Linked DNA regions of Homo sapiens: regions 1 and 2 are each linked to region 3. The links are contacts of gene promoters, found by promoter capture Hi-C in blood cells and fetal thymus (Javierre and others, 2016). All regions are on one chromosome and are shown on one strand. Each heading gives the region's core, a stretch centred on a gene start or on the middle of the fragment in contact. The rest is flanking DNA. Distances are from core to core; before and after follow the strand shown.

Evidence for each region. Contacts are between HindIII fragments. The CHiCAGO score rates a contact against its expected background, and 5 or more counts as called.
Region 1: a fragment that was not itself captured here is called in contact with the fragment with the promoter of IFT52 in region 3 in 1 of 17 cell types (neutrophils); the score reaches 5.1 in neutrophils.
Region 2: a fragment that was not itself captured here is called in contact with the fragment with the promoter of IFT52 in region 3 in 3 of 17 cell types (neutrophils, endothelial precursors and M2 macrophages); the score reaches 8.5 in neutrophils.

What each region holds. Positions count from the first base shown.
Region 1 is chr20:44,061,646-44,065,742 of GRCh38, reverse strand. It overlaps TOX2 (TOX high mobility group box family member 2), which reads right to left. Exons shown (of 9, transcript NM_001098797.2): 6 at 886-966; 7 at 1-31. Among named protein-coding and RNA genes, the nearest start is that of JPH2, 120 kb to the left of the region's middle. The HindIII fragment of the contact is 7,560 bases long and covers 1-4,097 here.
Region 2 is chr20:44,082,717-44,086,989 of GRCh38, reverse strand. No RefSeq gene overlaps it. Among named protein-coding and RNA genes, the nearest start is that of JPH2, 100 kb to the left of the region's middle. The HindIII fragment of the contact is 3,148 bases long and covers 1-3,055 here.
Region 3 is chr20:43,589,165-43,593,014 of GRCh38, reverse strand. It overlaps IFT52 (intraflagellar transport 52), which reads right to left and starts at 2,078. Exons shown (of 14, transcript NM_016004.5): 1 at 1,961-2,078. RefSeq lists an enhancer at 1,887-1,956. The HindIII fragment of the contact is 15,646 bases long and covers 1-3,850 here.

The sequences.
Region 1 (4,097 bases), core at 1,044-3,543, 470 kb before region 3:
TGCTCTTGGTCTCACCTTGATCTGGGGAGCTCTGGAAGGAGACAGATATCAGTCACTGGAGAACAGAAGAGGGATGAGCCAGAACATGGGCTGTGAGGCCAGGAGGCTCTGCAACCCACTGACACGGCTGCTGGCTGGCTGTCTTGGGAGAGAGCTTGGACTAACCAGAGATAGCACAGGGTCCTTAGTCCCCTTGGCTCTGACCATCCAGTCACCTACTGCTTTTATCTTTGGGGGGCTCCCCTGCCCTTGGGGGAATCCATGCTCCTCAGCCTGGCCAGTGAGACAAGCACCATCCCACTGAGCCAGCTCTAATCATGCTCCTTCCAACCTCTGTGCCTTTGTAGATGTTTTTCCCTTGACTTTGAACCACCTTTTACTTGGCCTGTTATAGACCAGTTTGGATGCCATCTCTTCTGTACCAGGAACAACACCCACCTCCACTTGGGCCACGCATCCGCAGCCACACTTAGCTTCCTACGTTGCTGGTGTTGACAGAGGAGGCCGACGGTGTGGTGAGGAGGTGCCATATTTTGGGGTAGCGTGTCCCAAGCCCCATCAGCGGTCAGAAGTGAAGGCCACATAAAACTGGCAAAACTGGGTTTGAATCCTAGTGCGGCCACTTTAACAAACTGGATCTTTTCAGGCAAGTTGCTCAACCCCTCTGGGTGCTGGGTTCTTGTTGGAAGAAGCCAATGAAATGCATGTAAAGTGCCCAGAATGAGCCTGGCATGCTGTAGGTGCCCTGCAGACATGACCATGTAGGTCTGAGCCATTCTTTCTAAGACCTGGGGTGCCGGCCCTTCCCACGGGCCCCAGTTCTTGCTCCATTCCTCAAGTGGCCCCACTCTGATCAGGGCTGTGCCTGGAGATTCCGGGTGTTACCTTGGAGACGAGGCTAGCCCGGTAGGCTGCCAGGGCCTTCAGATATTCCTTCTTTGCTGCTTCTGTCTTCCTCTTGTAGGCCTGGAAGAGTCAACACATGAGCAACACTGGGGAGAAAGTTACAGAGGAGATGCCGTGCAGGGTCCTGGGGTGGGAAGGCATGGATTCAAGGATCACGAATGGACGAGGGTGGTGGGGTCAGAAGCTGAGTCAGCCAGCCACTGGCCCCTTTCTGGGAGCGCTGCAGAGAAATTGTGGAGACCAGGCCATATCCCAGTTCCTCAGCCAAGTCACTGTGTGGCCTTGGCCAACATGCTTCATCTCTCTGGGCCTCCAGGTTCTATCAGCACAACTGATCACAGAAAGACAATGCCCTTTGAAGCCCCCATTCTGAGCCAGCACAGTGCAGATTTCTTAATGCCGAACCACCTTCGCAACCTAGAATGAACCTACTTGTTCATAGTATGTTAGTTTGGATTCGGTTTGCTAATATTTTTTATTAAAAATTTTAGACCTAGGTTCATATGTTATTGTAGGACTGGTCCCAGTTTGTTCGCACCTCCTTGTTTCCATGGCTTTTGGTAGAAACGAGGAGGTGCAAATGACTTGGAGCTTAGCCTTGTGTGACTTGTGTTGGCCAATAAGACAAGCACAAATGTGATGCATGCAGAGACTGACAAAGTGATCACATATTGGTGAGCCCTCTTGCTACTCTTGGAACTCTTATTTAAAAATTTTTTTTGTATATGAATAAGTTCTTTAATGGTGATTTCTGAGATGTTGGTGAACCTACCACCTGAGCAGTGTACACTGTACCTGATGATAGTCTTTTATCCTTCACTACCATCCTTTTCCCCAAGTCCCCAAAGTCCATTGTATCATTCTTATGCCTTTGTGTCCTCATAGCTTAGTTCCCACTTATGAGAACATACAATGTTTGGTTTTCCATTCCTGAGTTACTTCACTTAGAATAATTGTCTCCAATTCCATCCAGGTTGCTGCAAATGCCATTATTTCCTTCCTTTTTATGGCTGAGTAGTATTTCATGGTGTTTGTGTGTGTGTGTGTGTACATATATATGTATATGTGTGTGTGTGTACATATATATGTGTGTATATATATGTAGCACATTTTCTTTACTCATTGATTGATGGGCATTTGGGCTGGTTCCATATTTTTGCAATTGCAAATTGGGCTGCTACAAACATGTGCAAGTATCTTTTTTGTAAAATTTCTTCTCCTCTGGGTGGATACCAAGCAGTGGGATTGCTGGGTCAAACAGTAGATCTACTTTTAGTTCTTTGGGGAATTTCCACACTGTTTTTCACAGTGGATGTACTAGTTTATATTCCCACCAACAGTGTAAAAGTGTTCCCTTTTTGCCACATCCATGCCAACATCTATTTTTTGATTATGGACATTCTTGCAGGAGTAAGGTGGTTTTGATTTGCATTTCCCTGATCATAATGATGTTAAGTATTTTTTAATATGTTTGTTGGCCATTTGTATATTTTCTTTTGAGAATTCTCTATTCATCTCCTTAGCCCAATTTTTGATGGGATTGTTTTTTTCTTGCTGATTTGAGTTCCTTTGTAGATTCTGGATATTAGTCCTTTGTCGAAAGTATAGATTGTGAAGATTTTCTCCCACTCTGTGGGTTGTCTGTTTACCCTGCTGGTTCTTTTGCTGTGCAGCTTTTTAGTTTAATTAAGTCCCATCTATTTACCTTTGTTTTTGTTGCATTTGCTTTTGGGTTCTTGGTCATGAAGTCTTTGCCTAAGCCAATGTCTGTGGAAGGGTTTTTCCAGTGTTATCTTCTAGAATTTTTAGGGTTTCAGGTCTTAGATTTAAGTCTTCCATCCATTTTGAGTTGATTTTTGTATAAGGTGAGAGATGAGGATCCAGTTTCACTCTTCTACATGTGGCTTGCCAATTATCCAAGCACCATTTGTTGAATAAGGTGTCCTTTCCCCACTTCATGTTATTGTTTGCTTTGTTAAAGATCAGTTGGTTGTAAGGATTTGGCTTTATATCTGGGTTCTCTAATCTTTTCCATGGTCTATATGCCTATTTTTATACCAGTACCATGCTGTTTTGGTGACTATGGCCATATAGTTTGAAGTCGGGTAATGTGATGCCTCCAGATTTGTTCTTTTTGCTTAGTCATGCTTTGGCTATGAGGGCTCTTTTTTGATTCCACATGAATTTTAGGATTGTTTTTTCTAGTTCTGTGAAGAATGTTGGTGGTGTTTTGATGGGAATTGCATTTAATTTATAGATTGCTTTTGGCAGTATGGTCATTTTCACACTATTGATTCTACCCATCCATGAGCATGGGATGTGTTTCCATTTGTTTCATCTACGATTTCTTTCAGCAGTGTTTTGTAGTTTTCCTTGTAGAGGTCTTCCACCTCCTTGGTTAGGTATATTCCTAAGTATTTTATTTATTCATTTATTTATTTATTTATTTATTTATTTATTTATTTATTTTGCAGTTAAAGGGGGTTGAGTTCTTGATGTGATTCTCAGCTTGGTCACTGTTGGTGTATAGCAGATCTATTGATTTGTGTACATTAATTTTGTATCTTGAAACTTTGCTGAATTCATTTACCAGTTCTAGGAGCTTTTTGGATGAGTCTTTAGGGTTTTCTAGGTATATGATAATCCCATCAGCAAACAGTGACAGTTTGACTTCCTCTTTACTGATTTGGTGCCCTTTATTTCTTTCTCTTGTCTGATTGCTCTGGCCAGGACTTCCAGTACTGCATCGAATAAATGGGCATCCTTGTCTTGTTCTAGTTCTCAGGGGGAATGCTTTCAACTTTTCCCCATTCAGTGTAATGTTGGCTCTGGATTTATCATAGATGGCTTTTATTACCTTAAGGTATGTCCCTTCTATGCCGATTTTGCTGAGGGTTTTAATCAAAGGGATGCTCAATTTTGTCAAATGCTTTTTCTGTGTCTATTGAGATGATCATGTGGTTTTAAATTCTGTTTATGTGGTATATCACATTTATTGACTCGTGTATGTTAAACCATCCCTGCATCCATGGTATGAAACCCACTTGATCATGGTGGATTATCTTTCTGATACAACATTGGATTCAGTTAGCTAGTATTGTACTGAGGATTTTTGCATTCATGTTCATCTAGGTATACAATCATATCATCAGCAAACAGCAACACTTTGACTTCCTCTTTACAGATTTGGA
Region 2 (4,273 bases), core at 232-2,731, 490 kb before region 3:
TGGGCAACATGGTGAAACCCCATCTCTACTAAAAAATACAAAAAAACTTGCCAGGCATGATGGTGTAAGCCTGTAATCCCAGCTACTCGGGAGGCTGAGGCAGGAGAATGGCTTGCACTGGGAAGGTGGAGGTTGCAGTGAGCCAGGATCGCACCACTGCACTCCAGCCTGGGCAACAGAGCAAGACTTGGTTGCAAAAAAAAAAAGTCAAGGGATGGCTATACACAGCTGCAGGAATGAATCTCGTAAAATGGTGCTGAAGAAAAGCCAGACAGAAAAGATAACCATATATGAGTCCATTTATATAAAACGATAGAACAGGAGGCAAACTCAGTTTATGGCAATAACAGTTAGGGTGGTGGTTACCTGGGGAGGTGGTGTGGAGGGAGGTGGGTGAAATCACTGAGGAACAAGGGCACGTGGGAACTATTGGGGTGATGGAAACGTTCCATTTTGTTTTGGGTCATGGCTACAGAGATGGAGATGTGAAAATGTATCCTTTAAAAACAAACCAACCAAAAACAGCCCTTCTAAATCAGCATCCAGCGTGTATGCAACATACAAGAAATCAGGCAAATGCTATGTGGCTTCCTCCCAGGCGAACTCCGCTGCACACACAGGTGCCACGCTCTGTGCTTCACACACAGCTACCCCAGATGCCGCGTGTGCTCCCGCCAGCAGCCTGCCACACCGAGGCCACAATGTAGGTTTGGGGTTGGGCAGCGGAGGGTGCAGCACAGGGTGAACGTGTTCTCCCAAGCCTGTGGCATGGCTGGGGCTGCCAGCACTGGTTTAGGTGGGCAGGGGCTCTCCTGTGCTGCTCCAGGACTCAGGCGGGAGCCCATGAATCTTTACCTCTGCCACTCATGCAAGTTAGTATGTTTGCCCTGTTGCCCTTAGATGTGGCGTCTTTTTTTGCAGTGCCCAACCTAGACACATGTGCATTCATGTCTTGCCCGTTAGACTGCCCAGGGCAAACCACGTGGCTTCAAACCATTTTCCCACACTTCTCACCTGGTACGGGGAGCAGCTCTGTGGTGGTTTGAATTCAGCATCTCAAGTTGGCAACAAGTGTGCAGAAGCATCCAAAGTCACAGGTAACGCTCCATGGGGTCCTGGACCTGGATGCCAGCTTCTGACCCCCACCTGGGACTCACTTCATAAGGTAGAACACAAGGGATTCAAGGTTTCTGGGGGGCCAGGCACGTGGCTCATACCTGTCATCCCAGCACTCTGAGTGGCAGGAGGATCACTTGATCCCTGGAGTTTGAGACAAGTCTGGGCAACATTGCAAGACCCCCATCTCTACAAAAATAAAAATAAAAATTAGCCGGGCATGCATTGGCATGTGCCTGTAGTCCCAGCTACTCAGGAGGCTGAGGCCTCCCTTGAGCCTGGGAGTTCAAGCCTGCAGTGAGCCATGATTGCACCACTGCACTCCAGCCTGAGCAACAGAGTGAACCTCTGTCTCTAAGAAAAAAAAAAAAGATCTGGGGATTGTGGGTTGTGTCCTGCAAATCTCAAGGCAAGTTCCAAGTGATCCTGAAGCGGGAGACTGTCCCATTGGTGGCCCTCAGGGAGCCTGCTGCCGTTCCCACGCTTATACAGCCCCTGCCCTGGGAGCTGTGCTGATCCTGTTACTTACTTTAACCCAGTGGTTCTCAATCCAGGATGGCTTTGTCCTCCAGGGGACATTGGGCAATCTCTGGGGACACTTTTAGTTGTTGGGCCTGGTGGGGGTGCTACTGACAATGAGTGGAAGCCAGAGATTCCACTAAACATCCTGGAACACAGAGCAACCTCCTCCAATTCCTCTGCCCTCCGCAAACAGAGTGAGACCATTCCAGTGTCAATGGGGCCTACGCTGAGAGGCCCTGCCTTGCCGGATGAAGCATGGCGGGGTGATGCTCCGTCAGTTCTGGGATCAGCCTTTAAGACGCCGTTAGCTTCTGCTGCATCTTCAGGCCCCAGCCACCATGCAAGTGAGTTTCCCAGCACTGCCATAACAAGGTACCACAAACTGGGCAGCTTAAGGCAACAGAAATGTATTCTGTCTCAGTTCTGGAGGCTAGAAGGCCAAAATCAAGGTGTTGGCAGGGCTGGGTCCTTCTGGAGGCTCTGAGGGGAGAATCTATTCCATGCCTGTCTCTTGACTCCTGGCAGTCCTTGGCATTTCATGGCTGGTGTTGGCATAATTCTAGTCTCCTCCTCTATCTTCACATGGCCTTCGTCCCTGTGTGTATCTGTTTGTCTTCCAACCTCCTTAGAAGGACATCTGATGTTGGATTTAGGGCTTAACCTAATCCAGTATGACCTCATCTTAACTAGTTAACATCTGTGAAGACTTTGTTCTCATCTCTGCAGATATAACTAGTTAAGATGAGGTCATATACAACCATACATTAGGTCGTATTTTGAGGTTCTGGGCAGATATGAATTTTGGGGGTAGACTGTTCAGCTTGCCACACCATGTTAAGAAGTCCAATTCAGCTGGTCATGGTGTAATCCCAGCACTTTGTGAGGCTGAGGTGGGTGAATCACTTGAACCCAGGAGTTCAAGACCAGCCTGGACAACATAGTGAGACCCATCCTTTACAAAAAAAAAAAAAAATAGAAAAATTAGCCAGACATGGTGGCGTGTGCCTGTAGTCCCAGCTACTCAGGAGGTTGAGGTGGGAGGATCACCTGAACCCAGGGAGGTCGAGGCTGCAGTGAGTCGTGATCATGCCACTGCATGCTAGCCTGGGTGACAAGGTGAGACCCTATCTCAAAAAAAAAAAAAAAAAAAAGCCTGATGCCCCTAAGACCACCATGTGATGAGGGAGCCCAAGCTAGCTCCATGGACAGGCCACATGGATGGAGAAAGAAGAGAGACGCCCAGTCAACCCCAGATGTTTCAGTCATCTCAGTTGAGCTCTGGATATGGAGAGAAGCCGTCTTTGATGCTCCAGCTCCAGTGTCCTGTCGCCCTAGCCAACCACGTGGAGCAGGAGAGCCATCTAGTCAACCCACAGGTTTGTGAGATAGAATGAATAATCATTTTGACCCGTAAGCTTGGGGATCCTTCATTACACAGCAATTGATAACTGACATGAGGCCAGGGCTGAGCTGCTATTGACAGTATTGTCCACACTCTCACAGGTGAGATAATTCCCTCTCCCAGATCTGAGGTGTACCATAGGGCTGTACAGCCTCACGCCTGAGCATGGAACTCTAGTCTGGCCTAGAGAGCTCCTGCCTTCTCCCTCCTACGTCCCTGGCCACCCGCAGCCTCAGGATAGCCCCGGTCACGTTCTCTTCACCTGGCACTGATGTGAGGGACCGAATGAGCATCTTGCTGAGGGTTTCTTTAGAGGGAGTTGGGATGCCTGGCCTGGCAGAAGTTCTTTTGCCTCAGAAGCCTGCAAGAGGAGCTGGGGCAGAAGGGAGACCGTGGGTCTGCAGTGCGCAGCACAGGCCCCAGAAGGCGGGCAGCCAGCCAGGTAACTTCTCAAATGTCATCCTTTGCTTCTGGTCAGCACCCAGCCTGTCCCCAGGAACAATTCTAGTCCCTGGAAGCCCAGCTCATGAGTCACATGGTATTTGTCTGGAAAGGAAGTCAGTTGGTAGGTAGTTCTGGCTCACCAGATGAGTAGTTAAAATTAATTGACCAGATCATACACCCACTTGGGGAAACAGTTTGACAGGTTTTATTTTGAAGTTAAACATATACCTACCCTGTGATCAAGCATTTAAACTCCCACGTATTTACCCAAAATAAATGAAAACATATGTGCAAAAAGACTTGTACAAGAATGTTCATAGCAGCTTTAGGCATAATTGTCAAAACCTAGAAACAACACACATGACTCTCAACAGGATAACAGAAAAACAAACTGTGCCCGATCGCTTAAAATGGAATCCTGTTCAGGGACAAAAAGGAAGAAATTAAAGACATGCAGGGAACAACATGGATGAACTTAAAAGCCATTAAGTGAAGGAAGCAGACACATAAATATGTACATACCCAGTACTTCCATTTGTATGAAATTCTAGAAGAGGCAAAACCTAGCTGTAGTGACAGAAATCAGAGCAGTGGCTGCCTAGAGCAGTGGGGGCAGGGGTTGGCTGGAAAGGGGTGTGAGAGATTTCTAGGGTGACAGGAATGTCCTGTAGCTTGACTGGGACATACACGTGTATCAAACTCATCAATCTGGCCAGGCGGGGTGGCGCACACCTGTAATCCCAGCACTTGAGAGGCTGAGGTGGGCCAATCGCCTGAGGTCAGGAGTTG
Region 3 (3,850 bases), core at 829-3,328:
CAATCATCCCACTTCAACCTCATGGGTAGCTGGGACTACAGGCGCGCACCAGTGTCCAGCTAATTTTTAAATTTTTTGTAGAAGCAAGGTCTCGCTATGTTGCCCTTGAACTCCTGACCTCAAGTGATCCTCCTACCTCAACCTCCCAAAGTGCTGGTTTACTGGCATGAGCCACTGCACCCAGTCGGGTTTCATAATTTTCTAATTGATCATTAAACAAACATTTTCATAAGTTTATTTGGCTTCTGGTAGTTTTTTTGGTTTGGTTGAATTTTGCAGGCCATATAGATTTTAAATTTTATAGAGTTAAAAGTATGAATCTTTTCCTTCCTGGCTTCTGGATGACATGAAACACTTAGAAGAGTTTTTTGTCATTCTAAGATTATAAATAAATTCAACAATGCTTTACTTCAGTACTTCATGATGTAATTTTTTTTTTTTTTTGAGAGAGTCTGCTCTGTGGCCTAAGCTGGAGTGCAGTGGCACGATCTCGGCTCACCACAACCTCTGCCTCCCAGATTCAAGAGATTCTCGTGCCTCAGCCTCCCAAGCGGCTGGGACTACAGGCGCCCAAACACACCCGGCTAATTCGTGATGTAATTTTTTAACATTTAAATTTTAGTCCATTTGGAAATTATTGTGGTGCTCAAAATGGGCTTCATTCCTTTTTTTTTTCCTTCTTTTTCAAAGCATAGTCTTGCTCTGTCACCCAGGCTGGAGTGCAGTGGTGCAATCTCGGCTCGCTGCAACCTCCGCCTCCCAAGTTCAAGCAATTCTCCTGCCTCAGCCTCCCCAGTAGCTGGGATTACAGGCGCGCGCCATAGTAGAGACGGTGTTTCACCAGGTTGGCCAGGCTGGTCTGGAACTCCTGACCTCAAGTGATCCACCCGCTTTGGCCTCCCAAAGTGCTGGGATTACAGGTGTGAGCCACCTCGCTCGACTGGTTTAATTATTTTCTAAATTGCTAAAAAAGCTGCCTGACCCCAATTCATCTCTTCAATGCTGATTTGAAATACAGTACCACCTCGCCTATATAATAAATCCCTATATATAAATCGCTCTTATTCTGAGTTCTAATATATTTTATCTACCTGTAAGCTCCTGCTGAGTCCCAAACTTTTTAAATTAATTTATTTATTTTCAGAGACAGGGTTTCCTTTTGATACCCATGCTGGTCTCTGACTCCTGGGCTCAAGGGATCCTGCCGCCTCAGCCTACCAAGTAGCCAGGACTACGGGCCCACACTGCTGCACCCATCTTCTATGCTAGTTTAATTGCTATACCTTTATGTTATAATATCTGGTGGTTCTGGAGAGCTAATCTCCCTTATTAGCATTAATTTTAGAATTTTCCTGGCTACTTTCACATATTTATCCTTCTTTAAGCACTTTAACATCATTTTGTCCAGTTGAAAAACTGCCCCCTCCATGGTCCCACCACCGTGATACATCTATCTTTTTTTGTTCTGTTAGTTCAGCCCCTGGTGAGAGTAGCAGGTCTGCGTTCCTGTACTGTCAGACTTAGCCAGAAATGCATTTCCTTAATAATAGTATAAGGCCTTTAAAACTATAAAAATAACAAATATTTGGGTAACGCTGCCAAACCATTCTCTCGCTTTCTCTTCAATAACATTACCAGTCAAATCAGTATTTTCCCACATGAATACCGAGGGGTCGCAGCCACGACAGAAGAGAGATTAAGACTGTACGATTCCTCGTCCCATGCTCTTTCATAGTCAGCGGAACGACTAAACACCTGCACCACCCGAGGCCGTGGAGATGGGCGCCCAGCCGGGGCGCCAGGAACCCGGGCTACGTCCGCGCCCACAGTTTACTTCACCCCGGGGGACCCTGGATGTTCTATGACCGGCCCAGCGGCCTCGAAGAGTGCGGCGAGTCCCTCGCCAGCTCCCAGGCCGCACCAACGCCCCAGCCGGCCCACCACTGTTGGCGCCCTTTACCTGAGGCCCAGCGACCACCGCTCACCTGACGCCGCCCAGCATCCCGCGGCCAGGTATCCAAGGCCGCTTAGTAACCGGAGAGGCGCGTCGGTGCGCCGGGAGGCGTGGCCCAGGACGCAGCGCTAGCTCCGGCCGACGTGATGACGACAGCACGGAAGGCGCCTCTCCGTCGCAGGCGTCAGGGGTAGGCAGCCTGACTGATGTGGGGCTGTACCATTTGGTGCATGAGGGGCAAATCCAAACATAAGGAGAATTAACTTTTCACCAAAAATAAACCCATTTAATTTTGTTCTTTAGTATCAATTACGAGTAAAGACTAATAACAACGGTAGGACCCAAGTGCCCAAACTTCGCTCCACCCACAGGGAGGAGAATAGTGAAGGCTTCCAGCGCGGGGGGGTTGGAGAACGCCCCAGCTTCGATTCCCAAAGCGCAGGAGCAGAGTGGAGCCAGGCGAGGGCGGGGCCGGGCGGAAGGCTGTGCTGGACTATTAGGAACTACTTAACGGAAAAGGGTGCGCAGGTTTAGTGTTGAGAATGATAAACCGTATAATTCTGTTTTATTAACTCCGCATCTTTGCTTGCCATGGTACTAGGCTTGAGCGCCGGCGAGCATGGCGGGGAGTTAGAACTTGAATAGATTCTACAAAAATGTGAAAACTATGAACTGTATTAGGGAGTCTAACGACTAAGCTGGTCAAAAAGGCGCCCCTGTTGAGCAGAGATTTGAAGAGAGAGTGGTATTCATTAAGGCAAAGGCTGGGGAAGGGCGTTCCCGGCAGAAAGAACTGCTTGTGCAAAAGCACCACCAATACAGGTTGCCCTGCCATCGCCATTAAGATGGGAAACCAGAAGCCTGCAACTACCAACAGGCCACCCGACTACCCAGGAAAGCGCTCTGTGCCTGCCTTTAGAGGTGTGTGGATTTGTGAACAACGCTGCAGCAGCCTGGAAGACCCAAACTGAAGATTGCAGAGAGCTCTGACAGTTTTTATTTACATTTATGTTTGTCTTCGAATCTAGGATATTAAAACACATACAACTCGTGTTGCTTTCCACAATTTCTGTCACTGGAAATTTTAAAAGTGGAGACGGGCCGGGCGCAGCGGCTCTCTCCTGTAATCCCAGCACTTTGGGAGGCCGAGGCAGGTGGATCTCTTTAGCCCAGGAGTTTGAGGCCAGCCTAGGCAACATGGCGAAACCCGGTATCTACTAAAAATAGGAAAAATTACCTGGGCGTGGTGGCGCGCGCCTGTAGTCCCAGCTGCTTGGGAGACTGAGGTGGGAGGATTGATTGATTGATCCTAGGAGGTTGAGGCTGCAGTGAGCCGTCATGGTGCCGCCGCACTCTAGCCTAGGCAACACAGTGAGACCTTGTCTCAAAAAGAAAGTGGAGAACAGGGTGATTTGAGAATTCTCTTTGGTCAGATGAAGTGGCTTCTGCCTGTAATCCCAGCATTTTGGGAGGCCAAGGTGGGAGGACTGCTTGAGGCCAGGAGTCTGGGACCTGGGTAACAGTAACACCTTTTCTCTCCAATAATAATAGTAATAATAAATAAAAAAAGAAAATTAGCCAGGCATGGTGGCACACACCTGTAGTCTTAGCTACTTGGGAGGCTGAGGTGGGAAGATCGCTGGAACCCAGGAGTTCGGGCTGCAGTGAGCCATGATCGCTCCACTGCACCCCAGCCTGGGCAACAGAGTGAGACTCTGTCTCTTAAAAAAAAAAAGTTCTCTTCTTGGGGATGCTGTATTTTGGTGCAGAATTGGGTGAATACAGTTTGCAGTTAGGGTAATAATGGAAATGAAGTATTCTCACTGAAGAGAGAGTAGGCCGTCCCATTTGAAGGCTGGGACAAATCTTGGGATCTTTCTGCCTGATATGCAGTCA